2 separate regions of the Homo sapiens genome follow, and region 1 is linked to region 2. Evidence: promoter capture Hi-C in human tissues and cell types (Jung and others, 2019). All regions are on one chromosome and are shown on one strand. The core of a region is centred on a gene start or on the middle of the fragment in contact, and the rest is flanking DNA. Distances in the headings are between cores, read along the strand shown. Region 1 holds the start of TOMM40 (translocase of outer mitochondrial membrane 40). Region 2 overlaps PPP1R37 (protein phosphatase 1 regulatory subunit 37).

What was found. The method cuts DNA at HindIII sites, captures the fragments that hold promoters and counts their contacts. A contact is called where the count stands out against the background at its distance.
Region 1: a contact is called between the fragment with the promoter of TOMM40 here and a fragment that was not itself captured in region 2, in 1 of the 25 tissues and cell types used here (spleen).

What each region holds. Positions count from the first base shown.
Region 1 is chr19:44,885,944-44,893,376 of GRCh38, reverse strand. It overlaps TOMM40 (translocase of outer mitochondrial membrane 40), which reads right to left and starts at 2,123. Exons shown (of 9, transcript NM_001128917.2): 1 at 1,688-2,123; 2 at 917-984; 3 at 448-540. The coding sequence starts at 1,961. NECTIN2 (nectin cell adhesion molecule 2) reads right to left here. Exons shown (of 9, transcript NM_001042724.2): 7 at 7,377-7,433; 8 at 7,158-7,244; 9 at 4,154-5,267. The coding sequence ends at 4,998. RefSeq lists a silencer at 1,787-2,426 and enhancers at 2,737-2,896, 3,066-3,567, 7,308-7,433. The HindIII fragment of the contact is 8,270 bases long and covers 1-5,407 here.
Region 2 is chr19:45,099,706-45,106,492 of GRCh38, reverse strand. The region is part of intron 1 of PPP1R37 (protein phosphatase 1 regulatory subunit 37); the gene reads right to left. Among named protein-coding and RNA genes, the nearest start is that of PPP1R37, 9.9 kb to the right of the region's middle. RefSeq lists enhancers at 699-1,288, 6,001-6,588. The HindIII fragment of the contact is 9,683 bases long and covers 1-6,787 here.

The sequences.
Region 1 (7,433 bases), core at 874-3,373, 210 kb after region 2:
ATAACTAGCCCCCACATGGCCACCCCAGAGATGCCCCAGAGATTTCTACAGCGGGAACCTGTGGACCACGTCTTTCCCTTGACCAAACCATGCCATGACTCTCCACAACCCCCTAGAGAAAGTCCAAAGCCTAGTCTGGCATTCAAAGTTCTGCATGATCTACAGTCCAGCCCTTTCCACCCTGGGTCATCGCTGTCTGGTGACAGGGTGGCTGTGGCCACATCCCCAGCACTGCTCAGCATGGGGCCAGGCAGAGAGCAGGGGTTTGGCGGATGTTTGCTGGATGAAGGAATTATTTGTGTCCCAGTGCACCTCGGAGAGATGCAATCCCCATCTCCAGGCTCTCGGTAGCTGTGACCTTTTCCTGATGAGGCCGTCTTAGCTTGACATTTGGCTACAAATTTGTTATTAGAAGGATACAATGAATGGATGAAAAAGGAAGCTCACCTCTGTGGGACTCAGCTGCTTTGTCCCCACATATGTGACCCCGAAGTGGTAGTTGGACTCCCCGATTGTGCTGAGGGCTACTGTGTGGTTGACCTGGAAGGAAAGCGAGAGCTGTGACGATACTGGACAGATAGGCTTGCCCACTGAAGAGGGCAAGGACAAGGTCTCTGGGCTGGGCAGGGGATGAAGACTGGGAGGCACGGCCTGACTAAGAGACTCAGAGAAAGGAGGTGCTGCCGGTAGGCCCACAGACCTGTTCCTTCACTCCAGCCTAGCTGCTATGGGGAGACAGTACCTCTGGATTCTAGGTCCCCAAACTGAGTAGTCAGTCTGGCACTATATCTCCGAGTCTTTTCAAGTATCAGGGAGCCCAGCTCTTGAGGGAGGAGTAATTGGGCCGAGTGTGCAGATGCAGGGAGGGGGACGGCGGGGACGATCTCTGGTGGGTAAGGACACCAGGAAGGCTCACCTGAAAATGGTTACTCAACCCTTTGTTGACTGTGAGCTTGACACCCTCCATCTGAATGGGAAACAGCTCTGGAGAAGAGAAACGCTGTCACACTCCACTCCAACCCCACACCAACTCTCATCTCTTCCTTCCCTACCACCCCCAGCTCTCTCCAGAGACCCACAGCAGAACATCTCACAAAGGATTCCACCTGTAAAGAGGCAGTACAGCCTAGTTAGACAGGGCCAGGGCCTTTGCTTGCTCAAATCTCACTGCCACCAAGCTGAGCAACTTTAGGTCAAACTCATCATCTGAAAGATGGGACCCTCACCACACAGAATTGTCCCAAGGATCTAATGAGTTAACGTATAATGAACACCAGAACAGAACTCCATAAATCTCCACCACTACTACTACTCTAATTGCTCCAGGCTGGGATCCGGAGGCTTTGGGTCCCATACCCAAGGAACCTCGCTGACACCTTGCTGACACCGTGACCTTGGGCCTCAGTTGCCTTCCCGATCACAAGAGAAGTCTGGCTTGGCTGATCCCGGGGCTCCTCAGGTCCCTAAAGGCTTTTCTCTACTGCTATGACATTCCATCCCGTTTCCAGCATTTGATTCCATCATTCTAAGCCCCAAGTCCAACGTTCCACCATTCGATCCCAACATCACCTCCTAGTGCTGTTAAATAATTCCAATGGTGCGCGCCAAATCCCAGAGTCCCCAGTGTCCTCCCCCTTCCCCCGAGATCCAGGCCATCGCAGCCCAGCGGGGGCCCCTCGCCCCTCACCCTTGCACTTCCGGTGGCACTCCTCGAATGTGCCCGGGTTGGGCAGGCAGCCGCAGGCCCCATCCTCGGCGGCCCCTGAGGCGCTGGCGGTTGCAGCCCCGGGGGTCCGTTCCGAACTTCGACTCGTACTGGTGCCGGCGCCCAGGCTGCCTCCCAGCGGCGGCAGCGTGAAGCCCGGCGGCGAGGGCGGAGGTGGCGGCAGCCCCACGAGGGCCGGCGCAGGCGGCGGTGGCGGCCCTGCGGGCGGCGAGCTGGCAGCCAACACGTTCCCCATGGTCGCCTGCTAGGGGAGAGGTCAGAGGGCAGAGGTCAGGGCCCGCGCGCCCCCGACTCAGCCCCAGCAAATCCGCACCCGGCTCCGGCCCCGGTTCTCACTGGCGGCGGCGCCTGCTCCCGGCCTGGGCTCCGCTCCCACCCCGTGCGCCACGCGCAACCGAACCCGCTGCCGCCGCCGCCACCACCGTCGCCCCGCCCCACCTAGCCCATTGGTTTAGTGTGCCCTGAGGCCCGCCCACCAGCGTCAAGACTCGGTCTTCCCATTGGACTTGTGCATAAAGTCCCGCCCACTTTCCCTGAAATGTCCTTTTGTATTGGTTCTCACTCGCAGGGTAGCCACGGCGCCCCTCCCACCCTTCCCATTGGCTCGCAGCGCCTGCGCCTATTGGCTCGCGTCGCCGCGGGTTCCGGTGCTAACCCGCCATTGGTCTGTGCTGAGCATTTTGCCACGCCCGCTGAGGCATCGCCCCGCCTCTCTCCTGGAGGAGGCCCTCTTTTGATTCCGCCCCGCGGCGAGGTTGCTGTGATAATTGGTCGGCTTTGACCCTTGCAGCATTTTGATTGGCTCCAGCGTGTACGGGGTCGACCTTGGTGGCGTATCAGCTTGGTACTCTCATTGGCTAACGTTCCAGGGTCGAAGGACAGGTAAAGGTGGGTTGCGCGGCAGAGGCGGCTAGGCAGCAAGGTCAGGCCTCGCGTCCCACCAGGCACCGCGGCAGCCGGGCCCCCACCCCACCTCTGGTTCGGAGTAGCCGACCTAAAACCGGAAGTGCTGGCCCTTCCCAGAGTGCCTCGGGAGAATTCTAATCTGTTCTGCGAACCCTGCGCTGCTCCTCGTTACCCACAATGCCCTCATCACCTCTTAGCGAAACAGTTGCCTTAGACCCACCCCTTTCGTTACCCATCATGCCTCTTGTTCCTCGCGTCACTGCGGCTTCTATCTTTGGCCCATTCATTCCTCTCCCATTACCCATCATGCCTCTGCCCCATTCATTTGAGCTTCATTGCCCAGACTACTTTTAGCTCCAGCCTGCCTGCTCACTTTCGTCGTTCTTCCGGCCCTTCTCTAATTAGCCATCATGTTTTGGATCCATGAACTCCTGTCCGTTACCTCCCTTGCCCCCGGTCCCTATTTTTCCATTATTCATCACTCTGCCTCTGGCCCATTCATTCAGGTTTATTATCCGTCATGCCTTGGGCTCCTATTACAACATTATTCATGATTTTGCCTTTAGTCTACTTTTACTTGCCGTTTATTCATTAAACTTGAGCCTCTTATACTTTCGTTACTGCTTTTTTAATTTTTATTTTTTTAAAGACAAGGTTGGACTCTGTCACTCAGGCTGGAGTGCAGTGGCGCCATCATAGCTTACTGCAGCCTTGAACTTCTGGCCTCAATCGATCCTCCTACCTCAGCCTCCAGAGTAGCTGAACTACAGGTGCGTGCCACCACGCCCGGCTAACTTTCGTAGAGGCGGGGTCTCACTGTGTTTCCCAGGCTGGTCTCTTAACTCCTGGACTCAGTCGAGCTTCCCGCCTCAGTTTCCCGAAGTGCTGGAATTACAGGAATGAGCCACTGCATCTGGCCAATTGCTATTTTTATCTTTGTCCCATTCATCATACTGCTGTTGCAATTATGAATGTTCATTAAACAGCATGCCCTGGACCCCTCCCCATTCCATTACTCAACATTCTGTTTTTAGGGCTGGGCGCAGTGGCTCACGCCTGTAATCCCAGCACTTTGGGAGGCCGAGACGGGTGGATCACGAGGTCAGGAGATCGAGACCATCTTGGCTAACGCGGTGAAACCCCGTCTCTACTAAAAATACAAAAAATAAGCCGGGCGTGGTGGTGGGCGCCTGTAGTCCCAGCTACTCGGGAGGCTGAGGCAGAGGAATGGCGTTAACTCAGAAGGTGGAGCTTGCAGTGAGCCGAGATCATGCCACTGCACTCCAGCCTGGGCGACAGAGCGAGACTCCGCCTCAAAAAAAAAAAAAATTTTGTTTTTGATTGATACATTTTTGCTCATTACTCTCTCAATTCTTATTTTGTATCTTTGGTCCCTTTGTTTTTGTCTTTAACTCTCTTGACCCCAGTTCACTGATTCTCTCAAGCCCTTAGACTCCTTCCTCATTCCCCTTCATGTCTCACCCCATCCCCTTCACATCCCACAGAAAAGGCAAGACCTGGTCAAAGTATAAATTCATATTTTGTAGGAAATGTAGTTTACAAAACAGTATCAATTGCTACCCCCAATTCAGATGACCCACTTTCCCCGGAAGGGGGATGTTTAGGTCCTATTCCACTGGGCAAGGGTAAAATGATTCAGTAGTCTTCCAGGTTAACAGTAAATTCTTCTCCCAAGGCTGGGGCCATCAAGGCACAGTCTGTATGAGGCTCACCCTGTCTGACCCTAGGCTGGGGCTGCTTGCTTGGTAGGCAGGAATTGGGGTGGGGGTGGGGGCTCAGGGAAGGGTCTGGACCCTGAGACTTCTGCTTACAGGAGGGTGCTGGGAAAACCCTGCCTTGGGCTGGGGAATCCCCTCTTTCCCACCTTTGGGGAACAGGGTGGGGAGGGGGTAAGTGGGACCCTGCTGCCTGGAGGGCTCAGGTCTGAGCAGCAGGGAGCCCTCAGCGCCCACTCCAGCAGACCTATTGGGAATTTACTACCTGAAGACAAATTATAGGTCTAGGGTCTTCTTTGTGATTTTGGGGGAGTCGAGGCATTGGGGGGTGAGAGGTATGGTCTAAGGTCACAGTCTGGGAGAGGAGTCCTTGGGATCAGAGGTTGTGCAGAAGCACCTTCCCCACCTCCTGCCTCATGAGATAAGGTTGCCAGGATTCCATTATCACGGTGAATTTCTCTGGGCTCATGGGTTAGGGGTCATAGTGGAGCCACCAAGGTAGACATCACAAATGGAATGCATATGTGTTAACTGACAGTGGCCTGGCCAGAGGTCAGGGGGCACTAGATCCTTGGCAAGAAAGCTAAGGGATCAACAGGTGAGATGTGAGACGCCAGGCGCATGGCAGCTCACACATACATGGCCCGGGACATGACAAAGCCTTTGCCCTGGTAGGAATCAGAGGGGCTGCTATAGGACAGAGCATCATAGATGGGGTTGATCTTGTCCAGATACTCTTCCTCCTCCTCCCCCTCCTCATCCTCTAGATCCAGGGAAACGTCTTCCACAGCAGGTGGCCCTGGAGGCACCGGGATGGGGGACCCCAGGCTTGTGGCTCCAGGGTGCAAGGGTCCTGACCGTTCTTCCAAGGTGGGCAGCTCATGGTATCGAGGCATTTCCTGGAGGTAGAGAGAGGACAGGAACTCAAGATCACTTCCTACGCACGACACAGATTACCAATCTGCTCTTGACCCCAAAATCCTGACCGCTCTCTCCCCATGCCAACAAGATGCCACCTCACTCCTTGTCCCCTGAGGCCATATTGCACTGGGACATTCATTCAGCCCTTCCTTAACCCAAAGCCCAGCTCGTGCAACTCACCCTGTTAATCCTGGGACTCACTTTTGACACTCGATCTCTGCAAATCTTTCCCCATGAACCTTTCACCTCAGTCTTGACCTCAAATACTTAACCTTGGGCTCTAAACAGTCCTTTGAACCTTGAGCGCAACCTCAGTGTCTGACCCCTGACCTCCAGTAGACCACTGAGGGGAGTGACTTGATTTGTCTTGTCCCAGCTTCAGGCACAGTATCCAGCAAATGTAGATAATCAATTTTCTTTCATTCTGTTTTTTTTTGTTGTTGAGACGGAGTTTTGCTCTTGTCTCCCAGGCTGTTGTGCAATGGTGCAATCTGGGCTCACTGCAACCTCTGCCTCCCGGGTCCAAGCGATTCTCCTGCCTCAGCCTCCCAAGTAGCTGGGATTACAGGCGCCCGCCACCACGCCCAGCTAATTTTTGTAATTTTTAGTAGAGACAGGGTTTCACCATGTTGGCCAGGCTGGTCTTGGAACTCCTGACCTCAGGTGATCCACCTGCCTTGGCCTCCCAAAGTGCTGGGATTACAGGCGTGAGCAACCGCACCCGGCCTTTTTCTTTTTTGAGACGGAGTCTTGCTCTGTTGCCTAGGCTGGAGTGCAGTGGCGTGGTCTCAGCTCATTGCAACTTCTGCCTCCTGGGTCCAAGCGATTCTCCTGCTTCAGCCTCCTGAATAGCTGGGATTACAGGAGCATGTCACCCATGCCTGGCTTATTTTTGTTTTTAGTAGAGAAGGGGTTTCACCTTGTTAGCCAGGGTGGTCTGGAACTCCTGACGTCAGGTGATCTGCCCGTCTCAGCCTCCCAAAGTGCTGGGATTACAGGTGTGAGCCACCATGCCTGACCAGATAATCAATTTTCATTGACCTAATGACTTTTCCTCTTTTTTTTTTTTTTTGAGATAGGGTCTCACCCTGATGCCCAGGCTGGAGTGTAGTGGCACAGCCCCAACCACCTGGGCTTAAGCAATCCGCCCACCTCAGCCTACAGGCATTTGCCACCACATCCAGGTAAATTCAGTATTTTTGTAGACGCAAAATGTTGCTGGGTAGCCCATGTTGCCCACGCTGGTCTCGAGCTCCTAGGCTCAAGGGGTCCAGCTACCTTGGCCTCCCAAAGTACTGGGATTATAGACCAGAGCCACCATGCCCGGCCCAGGTGATTTTATTTATTTGGTTTTATTTATTTTTTTGAGACGGAATCTTGCTCTGTTGCCCAGGCTGGAGTGCAGTGGTGTGATCTTAGCTCACTGTAACCTCGGCCTCCTGGGTTCAGGCGATTCTTCCTCCTCAGCGCCCCGGGTAGCTAAGATTACAGGCTCGCACCACCACACCCAACTAATTTTTTGTGTTTTGAGTAGAGACGGGGTTTCACCATGTTGCACAGGCTGGTCTCGAACTCCTGACCCCAAGTGATCCTCCTGCCTTGGCCTCCCAAAGTGCTGGGATTATAGGCGTGAGCCACCGTGCCCAGCCCCCAAGTGACTTTAAATTCTAACCTTGTGACCTTGGGCCTTTTCACCCCTGACCTCCCCCATGGAATCCTGAACACATCTCAATGCATTAAGCACCAACCGGGGACACACCCTTGACCTTGAGTTATGACCTTTAGTCTTTGACCTCTTTTGCCAGGCCTGACCCCTGGCCCTTCAACCCAGACCCCCAACCCACCTTTGTCTTCCCATGAGCTCCTACCTGCTCAGTGCATGAGGCGCCAGCATCAAAGTAGGGGGTCTTGAGTGGGCTGTGCTCCGAGGCCCCCAGAGTGAAGAGCTGGGAGGGCTGTAGTGGGAGAGGGGCGGGGAGGTCAGGAACTGCCCCCACCACCCAGCCAGCTTCTCCCTGCCAGGCCCCTCCCAGCCCTGGGGTGGGTGTGGAGGTGGGGATAGCTTGGGCTCCAGGGAAAGTGCTCACCATCTCCTGTGCCTCCAGCTTCGCTTTTGGGGTCGGTGGCTTGTAGGAGGGAGGTCC
Region 2 (6,787 bases), core at 2,277-4,776:
GCGGGTGGATCATTTGAGGTCAGGAGTTCGAGATCAGCCCAGCCAACATGGTGAAACCCTGTCTCTACTAAAAATACAAAAAAATTAGCTGGGCATGGTGGCGCATGCCTATAATCCCAGCTACTTGGGAGGCTGAGGCAGGAGAATCGCTTAAACTTGGGAGGCAAAGGTTTCAGTAAGCCAAGATCCTGCCACTGTACTCCAGCCTGGGCAACAAGAGCGAAACTCCATCTCAAAAAAAAAACAAAAACAAAAACAAAACAGCTGGAGGGGTGGCCGAGGAGAGCAGCAGGAGCCTGGACCCAAGTGCCAGGGCATCCTTGGGTAAGTGCCGCCCCTCTCTGGTTACCCCTCTACCCCTGAGATGAGGAAGGGGCTGGTGCCAGCCCTGGATTCTTTTGACTGCACTGGAAGGCAGTAAGCACAAACACCTGGACCTAACAGCTGGTGGGAGGACATTCAGTCAGATGGCCCCGCCTGTTGGTGTCTGCTCCACCCCAGGACCAGACAGGATCAGGCCACTGTCAGACTTGGGCACTCTAAGCCAGGCTCCATGAGGGCGCTGTCCCTGGGCTCTGCCAGCAACAGCCCCAACTCCATTTTAATGGAACAACATTTACTGAACACCTGCTCTGTGCCTGGAGCTGTGCAGGAGACACAGCAGGGACCGAGAAAGCCCCGGGCCTGACCCCCTGGGACTTGTCCAGCAGGGAACACAGGTCCAGGCACAGCAAGGAAGGCAGCCCTCCAGGGAAACGGAACACTGACTGTTCATTGTGATCATAGTAGGCAGAACCGGGCCGGGAATCAAGGATCCCAAGCCCGTGACAGAAGGGGATTACAGAACACAGAGTGAGAACGGAGTCATGGAAGCTTGGCTGGGTGGCCGGTCGCCCCTGACACCTGTGACACATGGGTCACAGGGAATGGGGAATTAGGTCACCTGCCACAAAGGTACACGGCAGATCAATTATCAGAACCTTGCCTGCCACCCCGTGACAGGGAGGAGGTCCTGGGATCCAATCACTCCCTAAATGGTGCGGTGTCCTACATGGAGAGATGGGAAACACTGACGCGCAGTGGGAAAGGACCCCGGGCACCATCCTGCCCCACAGAGAGGGCAAGCATCCTGGCCTATGACCCCCAGCAAGTCAACAGCAAAGACGGGCCTGTTTGCCAGTCCTGCGCTGCCATTCTCACCAGGCTGGCGGGGGGATACCAGAGGCAGGCTTTGTACTCCCCTCCCTAAAGCTCCTCCTCCTCTCTGCCCACTTCCTTTTCTGGACCAGGGACTATGCTAGGGTAGGGACTGTCTGAGCTGCTCATGGCAAGGACTAAGACCCAGCATTGCATGCCACTTCCTTCTCCACCTGCCATATTGCGCTCCTGCCCAGAGCCAGGCCCAGTGCCACGTGGTCTGGGGCACTGGGGAATACAGTGGCACCAAACCCAACCCACCACTGCCTAGTGATGCTTCCAGTCCAGGGCAAGAGTATCAGCAGGCCCGCAGATAAGCAGATCGCTGGCCACCTGACGGGGAGCCCATTAGGAGGGCCAGGAAGGAAGGGTTTGCTGGCACCTGAAAGATTAGTGAGAGCCACCTGTGTGCGTAGGTGGGGCCGGTCTTCCAGGACAGGATGTGGGGAGCTGCCTGCGTGTTCTAGGACTGAAAGGAAGCCACGATGGCTTGAACCCAGCAAGAGCATGGCAAGGTGATCTCGGTCGTGGCCGGCGATGGTGGCAAGAGCCAGGTTATACCTGGGCTTCCTAACCTGTTGCAGGGACACTAGATCAGAGGGAAAGGCAGCAGGGAGGTCACAAGTGTGATGTGAAACAGGAATAGCAAAGTCTGCTTTTTCAAGAATGCTGTGGCTGCTAGGTGGGGAGCGGGTTGGAGAGGGAGCAGGAGAGCCATTGGGAGGCCCCTCCACCTGGCATGGCAGGGACAGCAAAGTGGAGGCAAAACAGGCGCTGGTTGGCAAGGAATGAAGGAATGAATGCAGGAAAAAAGGACTCAGTGAACGAAATCTTCCTTCCCCACACCCCATGCTCCCTGACTGTCCTGAGCCCCAGTGCCTGGGTTACAAAGGCTTTGCGGCACCCGGCCTGGGTGCTCATAAGCAACCCCACTTTGCCCGGAGTCCTTAAGGTTCCTGGAGGCGTTCAGTGGTTCCACCCCTCCCAGGAGCCAGATGGACAGGATGCAGCCCTCTGCAGCACTGGTCCAGGGAGGGGAGATGGGCCCGAACAAATAACAACAGAGCGAGGAGGCGCCATGGGAACCCAGACGAGCGGAGCAGAGCTTTGTCCGGGGATTAGAGAAGGCCTTGCCCAGAAGGCAGCACGGGAGGGGGAGTTGGTCAGGAAGGGCAGGGGACTATCGAGGGGTGTGCTGGGCAAAGGCGCCTGCGTCTAGGCGTGGGAGGGGTAACGGGAATTGGTCAGGAAGGGCAGGGGACTAGCGAGGGGCGTGCTAGGCAGAGGCGCCTGTGTCTAGGAGGCTGGGCGTTCTGTGGGAAAGGCCTCCCACACCAGGCCCACGGGTGTGGACTTTGTCCTGTAGTTACAGTGGAGCCCTGGGGGCTTTCTGAAACAGGACAGAGGATCAGAACCATTCAAGCTGCCGGGCTATAACTCAGCTCCTCCTCTACTACCTGTGTGGCCTTGGCACCTCTGTGAGCCTGTTTCCTCCTCCAAGATTAACGATGCATGTAAAGAGCTTAGCCCTGTTAAGCGCTCCATAAATGGGAGCTTTGAGTACCATCACCTCCATCACCACCACCAGGAGGCATGACCCCTGCAGAGAGTCACTTCCCTGCGGCTCGCTTTCACCTTTTGGCAGCCCCACTCTCCCACCCTCCCTCCCTGTTGTCCTGGGGAACCAAGCGAGTTCAGCTGTGACAGTGCTTTGCTTTGCAAAAGGGAAGACTGCACAGGACGCGAGCAGTTCTCCACTACATCGCTGACAGCAGCTGGTGAGAGCCTCGGAGACCGTGGAGAGAGGGAGGGGTGGGTGTGAAGGTGGCACACGAGTCCGACCCCGGCGGGTCCCAAGCGCCAGCTTGCTAGAGGAGCCCGCCCACCTAACCAGGGAACACATTCCCAGCTGGAACCCAACCAGCCCTGAGGGGAGCATCCGACTGCAGGGCTCCCGACCCAGGCTTCCGCTGCGAAGTGAGATGGGCGCTGGGCAAGTCACATGAGCTGTGCGGATGTCAGCAGACACTTCCAAACCTCCACCCCCACCTTGAGGCAACCGCTCAGTACCAGCTGCCTAGAGGAAGGGAAGGGGTGAGAACAACTTCTGAGTGCCTACTGTGTACCTCCATCCACCACCAATTCATCCAGTGTGAGACCCTGCGGAGGGCCAGGCACCATGGAGGGTGCTGGGGACACAGGTGAGCCAAGACAAAGATGGGTCCTGCCTTCATGGACCTTCCTACTTAATGTACGAAACATAGCCAAGCATGACGGATCTCTCGAATTCCTTTTGGCACCCAGCCTCTGAACCACCTTCTTGCAATTAGGGAAGCCCCTCCACATCTCCCACCTCCTCTTAGCTGAAACAGCAGACCCCAGCCTCCTGTGTGGCTCCAGCCCAGGAGCCTGACGTGGGCTCAGCCCTGGAGGTGCTGTGGCGGCTATGTAACAGGAGCGGCATCAGCTCCACACTTGATGCAGGGTGTGCTCCTGCTGGCGTGGGCCCCAGGCCTGGCTCTCTGGTCTTCCCAGAGAGTCTAAAAACTTTGAGAGAGTCCTCATCTGGCAAAATGGCTTCACAAATGGGGAAAGTGGTCCAGGGAGGTCAAGGGACTTGCCCAAGGCCACACAGCCCAAGTGTGGAGGAGCCGAAATCACACTCAGGCAGATGATCCTACCCGCTGGTCATCTAGCCCCACCTGCCTAACCCTTACAGCCGGGGGAGGCAGGAACCAGTCAAGTTCAAGGCAGTGACCACCTCACTCAACTTTCCCATGTCCTCATGAGCGCCTGCAACAGCCAGCTACTGTTCCAGCTGCTTTCCAAGTAGAGGCTAATTTAATCCTCAATCCCCATACAAATGGGGACACTGAGGCAAAGAAGCTGGGTGATTTGCCCAAGGGCAGAGCTGGGACTGGCACCCAGGGGGCTCCCGTGCTGCCTCTCAGGTTACTGCCATTTCACAAACATGGAACGAGGCCCGCTGCGGGCTCCAGAGTCTCCTCCTGGAACCCTTGGGCCAGACGTGTTTTAGAATCAGAATTTTCTGGATTTTATAAGACTGATCAGACACCGATATTGCGCTAAGCCACCAGAGGGGTTTGGGATGGTCTGTAGAGTTTTCTGGATCTGGGTACTGTGAGACCTGAAGGGACTGTGGAGGTGAAGTCACTGGAGAGGTCACCGGACTTCACAGCCCACACGCCTCCCACAGCCCATGCAGGGGCAGGATGTCCCAAGCAGGCCAAGGACACGCTGGCTGGGGGAGCACGAGGGAAGGGACTCAGATCCAAGGAGAGAAGGGAAGGGGAATAACAGTCACCTCAGAGGTGCTATGGGAAACAGTGGCATCGGCAAACCTGCTGGTGGAGGGGAGGACTCAGAGGAATCTGATGAAGAAGTCAATGAAGTCAAGTGTCAGCTATCAGCCAATATGAGGCTACGCCAAGCCTACAGCCTCCGGGCTCCTGGCTCACGGCCCCTCCCTGGCCTCCCTGTCTCAGTCTCACCCTATTCATGTCACCTCCACACAGGATTCTGTTAAAAACACCCACCATGCCCCTCCTTTTTCTTTTGAGACAGGGTCTCACTCTGTCACATAGGCTGGAGGGCAGTGGTGTGATCACAGCTCACTAAAGCCTCGACCTCCTGGACTCAAGTGATCCTTCCACCTCAGCCTCCTGAGTAGCTGGGACTATAGGCACATGCCACCATGCCCGGCTGATTTTTGTATTTTTTGTAGAGACAAGGTCTCGTCATGTTGCCAAGGCTGGTCTTAAACTCCTGGGCTTAAGTGATCTTCCCGCCTGGAGCTCCTGAAGTGCTGGGATGACAGGCGTGAGCCCCCCATGCCCAGCCCAGGCCCCTTCTTAAGCCCTCTGGGGCTCCCTGCTAGCACAGCCCATAAGGCCCCACACAGCAGTCTCTCCTGCCTCCTCCAGCCTCACCTCTGACCAGCCTGCCTCTACCTCAACTAAGTCTGGCTTTTTTCTGTTCTTCAGACATACCAGGCTGGTTCTCTCTGCCTTCCACCCCTGGTGCACTCCTCCCACTGCTCCTCACCTGGCTTACTGCTGGATTTCCTTGGTGACGTCCTTTCTAGGAAGCTGCCTCTGCCCTGCCCTCCTGCACACCCTGTGGACCCTCCCTAATCTGAGTCCTCAGAAGCCTGGTTTGCTGAGAATTCTTTACTGTGTGTCTCCCTCACTTGACTGTGACCCCCACAGAAGCATGGACTGGGCCTGTCTTCTGCCCTGACTCGTAACACGTGGCACGGCCACACCATGCTGAATGCATGACTGGTTACGGGGTCACCAAGTCACTCACGCAGCAAGAATATATTGAGCGCCTATCACATACCAGACACTGAGTAGCACAGGAAGAACACGTCCCAGAGGCCAAGGGTCAGAACAGCAGGCAATGCTGAGGACAGAGGAGCAGCACAAATCTCCAGGGACTCAAGCTGTCCACGAACCACAGTGACCCCCTCCTGCGTGCCCACCAAGGCTGGGCCCTTACCCCACCTGTTTCTGTTTCTCCTCCCTGCCACAACACCGCAAAGCCAGCACTGTTGCCTCTATTTTATAAACGATTCTGGGTTATAGATGAAGAGACCGTATGGCACGTTGCACCGAATGCGTCCAAGCACTCAGCCGCCGCACAGGGGTTATTACTGCGCAGGCTTCGGCGCCAGGCTGGCTGCCTGGATTTGAATCCCAGCTCCACCACTTACCCACTGTGTGACCTCAGGAAAATTACTTTACCTCTATGGGCTCCATTTCCTCATCTACAAATTGGGGCAAACGGCACCTACCTCCTGGGGTGGCTGTGATATCTAAATGCGATAATACACAAAAGGCACTGAGACCAGTGCCTGGTACAGGCACATGGAAGGCAATGACTGGTGATGACTAAGGTCAGCCAGAAGGCAAGAATTTAACCCACCTGCCCCCATGCCCTACTGCAGCAGGTGGCCGGCTCAGCTTGAATTTCTGCAGTATTTCAATGCTCACCTGTTAATTTGCTCCAAAAAAGGCTTTGAGGTCAATGCCAGCCACCCCTGAACTGAGGTCTGAAGGCAGGCTTGGGACTGAGTGATGGATGGCGGAGCAAAGCACACAGACAGCCAAGCGAGGTTGTCAGAACCACCTGGGGAGCTTTTGTAAAAACAGGTTTCTGGCCTCCGTGCTCAGTGACTGCTCCAGCTGCAGTCCGTCCAACACAGGGCATTTGGCCCCACGGTTCTTAATCCTCTTGGAGTCGGATGCCTGTGAAGGTTCGCAGAGCCCCAGTACTCGCTCCCAGAAACAAGTGCACACGCACTCCCGCTGACGCACTGAAGGCTGGTTACCGAGTGCCAGCTGGGGGCCAGCTTCGCGTGCTCTTCCGGGAGTCAGAATGGGTGCTAAAGCCTGTCTGTAGGTCCCTGAGAAAGAGTCCTCGTCCTGGCACCAACTGGATTAACTACCACAAAAAAAGTTTCCTGTAAATCCCACCATGGGGTGTTTGATCCCAGGAAAACACCCCAGTCCTTCGGACATGTGTCCCGTGCCCGAGCCCTCCTGTGTGCTAGACTAGGGTCACAGAG